Regions from separate parts of the Homo sapiens genome. Here region 2 is linked to region 1. Evidence: promoter capture Hi-C in 16 types of primary human blood cells and fetal thymus (Javierre and others, 2016). All regions are on one chromosome and are shown on one strand. The core of a region is centred on a gene start or on the middle of the fragment in contact, and the rest is flanking DNA. Distances in the headings are between cores, read along the strand shown. Region 1 holds the start of NSMCE1 (NSE1 component of SMC5/6 complex). Region 2 overlaps KATNIP (katanin interacting protein).

Region 1 (2,864 bases), core at 145-2,644:
AGCAAAGGGTCACTGACCCCATCTTACAGATGAGGAAACTGAGACTAAGAGGGCACAAGGTGACACACAAGAGTTGGTGGCAGAGATAGACGTGACCATACAACAGCACAGTTCCTGTTTTCAAGGACACTCTCTATCCAGCGAGAGTGAGAAAAGTGAGTGAACAGAACAACTACAATCCAGGTCCCTCATCTGCAACCCTCAAATCTAAAAAGGTATGAATACTAGTGGATGATCGGATGCAGGGGAAAAAAAAAAAAAAGTCTGAATACCAAAACTTGTTTAAGTTGGAAAACTTGACCTGACTTAAGGTGAGGCTATTTATGGTTATTTATCCCAACAGTGTAAATATATGCATTTTTTTTTTTGAGACGGAGTTTCGCTCTTGTTGCCCAAGCTGGAGTGAAGTGGCACGATCTTGATTCACTGCAACCTCCGCCTCCCGGGTTCAAGCGATTCTCCTGCCTCAGCCTTCCGTCTCAGCCTCCCGAGTAGCTGGGATTACAGGCACGCACCACCACGCCCGGCTAATTTTTTGTATTTTTAGTAGAGACAGGGTTTCACCATATTAGCCAGGCTGGTTTCGAACTCCGAACCTCAGGTGATCCGCCCCCCTCAGCTTCCCAAAGTGCTGGAATTATAGCCGTGGGCCACCGCGACCAGGTCAATGTAATATATGCGTATCTTCATAACTTTAGCTGTGGAAAGGGTCGTGTATTTGATTACAAGCCGCTGCTCCAGCCCCCTCTGAGGGTGAAACCTAACATAGAACATAGGGACTTTACCTTTCCAAACTCCGAGAACTCCTCGATTTTAAACGCATCTGGCCTCGGGGCTGTAACATAAGCGGCTGCGGACTTGTACAAAGTAAGAAACTCCGTACACAAAACAGAGGGGAGCACGGAGGGCGGCGGGACAAAGAGGGTGGTCGGCAAAGGCTGTATTTTCCATAGATGTAATCACAGTTTGAATCGAATTTTATATTTTGCTTTTTCACCTGTTACAATGAAAAGTATCTTTACCTGTTAAATCGTAATTACGATTAAAAATATTTTTCACTAAATAGTAAGATTTTTAGATGTCTGCGTGTGTGTTGCGGGAGGACATCCCAGTCCGCTGTTTTCTGCGGCCCCTGTCTGGGCCTCAGTTTCCCCATCAAGAAGGGGGAAACCCCAAGACCCCAGTCCCCGAGTTCCACAGCCCACGGGGACCGACCCCGGGGCCGGACCCCACTGCCTGTCTCGCCCACCCCACCTTCCGTCCTCCCCTCGCCTTCCTTGAAGTCCCTCTTCTTTCCCCTCCAACCCCTAGCTCCCCACGTTACCCACCAGGGAGCCCAAGCGCATCCCAGGCCGCGCTAGCGGATACGGTCGCAAGGTGGACTCTTCTTCCTTTGAGGCGGGGCGAACGCGAACGCGGCGTTCCCATTGGTGGCCTGCGGCTTATTCGCCCGTCCGTTGAGTGACGCACTTCCGGTTCTCCGTTTGCGCCATTGCCCTGGTGGTTCCGCCTCGTGGGTTAGATCCCAAATTACGCCCGCTCTCGATCCTTAATAATGGGAAGGGGCTTCCACTTGTCGCCCTCCGCCTCCTGCACCTCAGTGACTTCCCTGACCAAGGAGGAAGAATTGGCGTGCAGCCTGGGCTTCCCTCAATGGCCACCATTCCGCTGGCACAATGTAGTGCCCTGCCCCGGGCCTCAGTTTCCCCATCTGTGGAACTGAGTGTGGCCTCGACGTCAAAAATGTGGACTCTGGTCCGGTCGCGGTGGCTCACGCCTGTAAGTAATCCCAGCACTTTGGGAGACCAAGGCGGGCCGATCACTTGAGGTCAGGAGTTCGAGACCAGCTTGGCCAACATGGTGAAACCCCCGTCCCTACTAAAAATACAAAAAGTAGCCGGGCGTGGTGGTGTGTGCCTGTAATCCCAGCTACCCGGGAGGCTGAGGCAGGAGAATCACTTGAACCCGAGAGGCAGAGGTTGCAGTGAGCCAGATCGTACCACAGCACTCGAGCCTGGGTGACAGAGCTCAAAAAAAAAGAAAAGAAAAATGTGGACTCTGTGGTCATAGAGCCTGATCTAGAATCCTGGCTCTGCCACTTACTAGTTGGCAGGCGCTTGGGCAAGTCACTGAGCCTCAGTTTCCTCTTCCATTAAATGAGGATATTAGTTCTTGCAAAATAGTGTTGGTGAGATTTACAAGAGATAATAACACCTATATCAGGTGCTTAGCATGGCCATTGAAAAGTGTCACATGGGAGTGCTGATTATATGTTAACTGTTATCTTACCTAGGGATTGTGAGAAAGCAAGTGAAATTACTCGTGGAAGTGAATGGACTGCTTTGAGTCTTCAAGGCGTTAATTTTCCAAACGTTTGAATTCTATCCCTGGTCTGAGAGCTAGGGATGCAGCCTAGCAAGGGAAACAGGTAACTAATATAGAACAGCAGTACCTGCAAATATCTGTCTCTGTGAGGATAGATCAAATCCAGGCTTGGTCACTCACCACCCCTGTGATCTTGGACAACCTCTTAACCTCTCTGGGCTTCAGTTTCATCTGCTAAGTGGGAAAGCAGTGGTGTGTGGTGATTAAAAGCTTCAGCTTTGGAGCTGGATGGTCAACATGGAATCCTGGGCCTTAAACTCAGTGTCTCTGAGACATAGGACAAAGTACAGTCAGCTGTCCATGTTTACAGGTTCCCCATCTACGGATTGAAGCAACTGTGGGTGGTTAATATTTGTGGGGGAAAACAGTAAAAAATAACAGTTCAACAATAAAAATAATACAGATTCCGAAAGCAATACAGCATAGCAATTACTTATATAGCATTTACATTGTATTAAGTATTGTAAGTAATTTAAAGA
Region 2 (2,864 bases), core at 197-2,696, 280 kb after region 1:
ATGATATTTACCATATCGAAGATTTAAACTGGGAAAATCTTAAGATGTCCATTAATTAGTTCCTTTAAAAATAATAAAAATTGGGCCGGGCATGGACTCGTGCCTGTAATCCTAGCACTCTGGAAGGCCAAGGCAGGTGGATCACTTGAGGTCAGGAGTTCGAGACCAGCCTGGCCAACATGGTGAAACCTTGTCTCTACTAAAACTTAGCCGGACGTGGTGACACATGTCTGTAATCCCAGCTACTTGGAAGGCTGAGGCAGGAGAATCATTTGAAGCCGAGATCTTGCCACTGCACTCCAGCCTGGGCAACAGGGCGAGACTCTGTCTCAAAAAAACCCAATAATAATAATAATAATTGGCCAGGTGCAGTGGCTCATAATAATCATAATAATAATTGGCCATGTGCAGTGCCTCACACCTGTGATCCCAGCAGTTTGGGAGGCTGAAGTGGGTGGATTGCTTGAGCTCAGGAGTTCAAGACCAGCCTGGGCAACATAGCTAGACCCTGTCTCAAAAAAACTCCAACAACAATAAACCCATTACTTCTGAACATAAATAATATTTTTAATGGAAAACAATTACATTTGCCTCCAAAAAATTAATAGGAAGAGTAGCATTATTTTATGTTTTTTCAAGTTTATTCAATAGAAATAGAAAAAACTACTCTCATTTCTGCTTCAGGATTCAAACTGTTTTTTGTTATGCTGTTTTGGCTGGTGTGTATGAAGAAAATTTGGCCTCATACAAATATATAATTGGAGCAGAGAGAAACATTTTAATTGCCTTTTCAGATAACTGTAGACACTCTCCTTTCATACTATACAAAATTTAGCAAATGCCAGTTTCTTTTTTCTTTTTTTTTTTTTTTTTGAGAAAAAGTCTCACTGTCGCCCAGGCTGGAGTGCAGTGGCACGATCTCAGCTCACTGCAACCTCTGCCTGCTGGGTTCAAGCGATTCTCCTGCCTCAACCTCCCGAGTAGCTGGGATCACAGGTGTGAACCACCATGCCCAGCTAATTTTTTTTATTTTTAGTAGACATGGGGTTTCCCCATGTTGGCCAGCTGGTCGCAAACTCCTGACCTCAGGTGATCAGCCTGCCTCCATTTCCCAAAGTGCTGGGATTACAGACGTGAGCCACCATGCCTGGCCTGCAAGTGGCAGTTTTTTTTTTTTTTTTTTTTTTTTGAGACGGGAGTTTTGCCGTCGTTGCCCAGGCTGGAGTGCAATGGCCTGATCTCGGCTCACCGCAACCTCCGCCTCCCGGGTTCAAGCGATTCTCCTGCCTCAGCCTCCCAAGTAGCTGGGATTACAGGCATGTGCCACCACGCTCAGCTAATTTTGTACTTTTAGTAGAGATGGGGTTTCTCTATGTTGGTCAGGCTGGTCTCAAACTGCCAACCTCAGGTGATCCGCCCGCCTTGGCCTCCCAAAGTGCTGGGATTACAGGCATGAAGAACCATGCCAGGCCACAAGTGGCAGTTTCTTAAATGTTAGTCACAGTGTGTCATCTGAAGCCTTATAGGTGAACTTTTATACTGTGTTACATTAAAATCCATTGGTCTATCTTGCCCTTTCATTGGCTGCTTTACCCATATATGGTTTTATAACATCAGCCATTGGTCGTTTAGAAAATGTTGGTTCAGTGAGTTATGCAAATCTAAACGTTGACCTTTCAGATGCCATTATACGGTATTTAAAAAATCACATTTGTTAATATCACCACCTATTTCATTTTAAAAAGGAGTTTAAGTATTAGGAAACTATCAAACTCAAGGTAATGGAAACAAGTTTTCAACTTGTTTTCACTTGACAGCTTGAATTTTAACATTGGCAGCAAATATTGTCAGCTGTTTCCTTGAAGTGACAGACTCACTTATTTCATATTTGAGAAAATTTCTGCCAAATTCCCAAGACTGAATAACCAAAATTTGTCTATTATTTTATTTACTGCCATGTACTCACATTTAAAACAAACAAACAATTATTTTTATTTAAGAATGTCCTGATGGTTGGGTTCAGTGGCTCACGCCTATAGTCCCACCGCTTTGGGAGGCCAAGACAAGAGGATCTCTTCAGCCCAGAAATTCAAGACCAGCTTCGTCAACATAGTGAGACTCCATCTCTACTAAATAAATAAATAAAATAAATAAATAAATAAATAATAGTCAGGCATGGTAGCATGCACCTGTGGTTCTAGCTGCTAAGGAGACTGAGGTGTGGGGATCACTTGAGCCCAGGAGGTCAAGACCAGCCTGGGCAACTTAGTGAGACCCCATCTCTGTAAAAAGTAAAAAATTAGACAGGTATAGTGGCTCGTGCCTGTAGTCCCAGCCACTCAGGATCAGTTGAGCTTAGGAGGTTGAGGCTACAGTGAGCCATGACTGTGCCACTGCACTCCAGCCTGGGCAAAAAGACCTTGTCTAGAGAGAGAGAGAGCAGGGGGTGGGGTGGGGGGAGAGAGGAGAGAGAAAGGAAGGAAGGAAAGAAGGGAGGGAGAGGAGAGAGAAAGGAAGGAGGAAAGAAGGGAGGGATGGAAGAAGGGAGGGAGGAAGGAAGGAGGGAAGGTTTCTAGTACATTGTGGTAACATTGCCTTGATTCAGACTGCAAGCAGTTTTACCCACCATTGCTTTGTGTCATAAGTACAAATGTCAACACAGCCAGATGGGGTGGCTCACGCCTGTAATCCCAGCACTTTGAGAGGCCAAGGTGGGCGATCACCTGAGGTCGGGAGTTTGAGACTAGCCTGGCCAACATGGTGAAACCCTGTCTCTACTAAAAATACAAAAATTAGCTGGGCATGGTGGCACATAACTGTGGTCCCAGCTACTTGGGGGAGGCTGAGGCAAGAGAATCGCTTGA

What was found. The method cuts DNA at HindIII sites, captures the fragments that hold promoters and counts their contacts. A CHiCAGO score of 5 or more calls a contact.
Region 2: a fragment that was not itself captured here is called in contact with the fragment with the promoter of NSMCE1 in region 1 in 1 of 17 cell types (neutrophils); the score reaches 5.9 in neutrophils.

What each region holds. Positions count from the first base shown.
Region 1 is chr16:27,267,378-27,270,241 of GRCh38, forward strand. It overlaps NSMCE1 (NSE1 component of SMC5/6 complex), which reads right to left and starts at 1,395. Exons shown (of 8, transcript NM_145080.4): 1 at 1,329-1,395. NSMCE1-DT (NSMCE1 divergent transcript) reads left to right here and starts at 828. Exons shown (of 5, transcript NR_037184.1): 1 at 828-867. RefSeq lists a silencer at 1,289-1,368. The HindIII fragment of the contact is 3,617 bases long and covers 1-2,593 here.
Region 2 is chr16:27,551,522-27,554,385 of GRCh38, forward strand. The region is part of intron 1 of KATNIP (katanin interacting protein); the gene reads left to right. Among named protein-coding and RNA genes, the nearest start is that of KATNIP, 2.8 kb to the left of the region's middle. The HindIII fragment of the contact is 4,528 bases long and covers 1-2,864 here.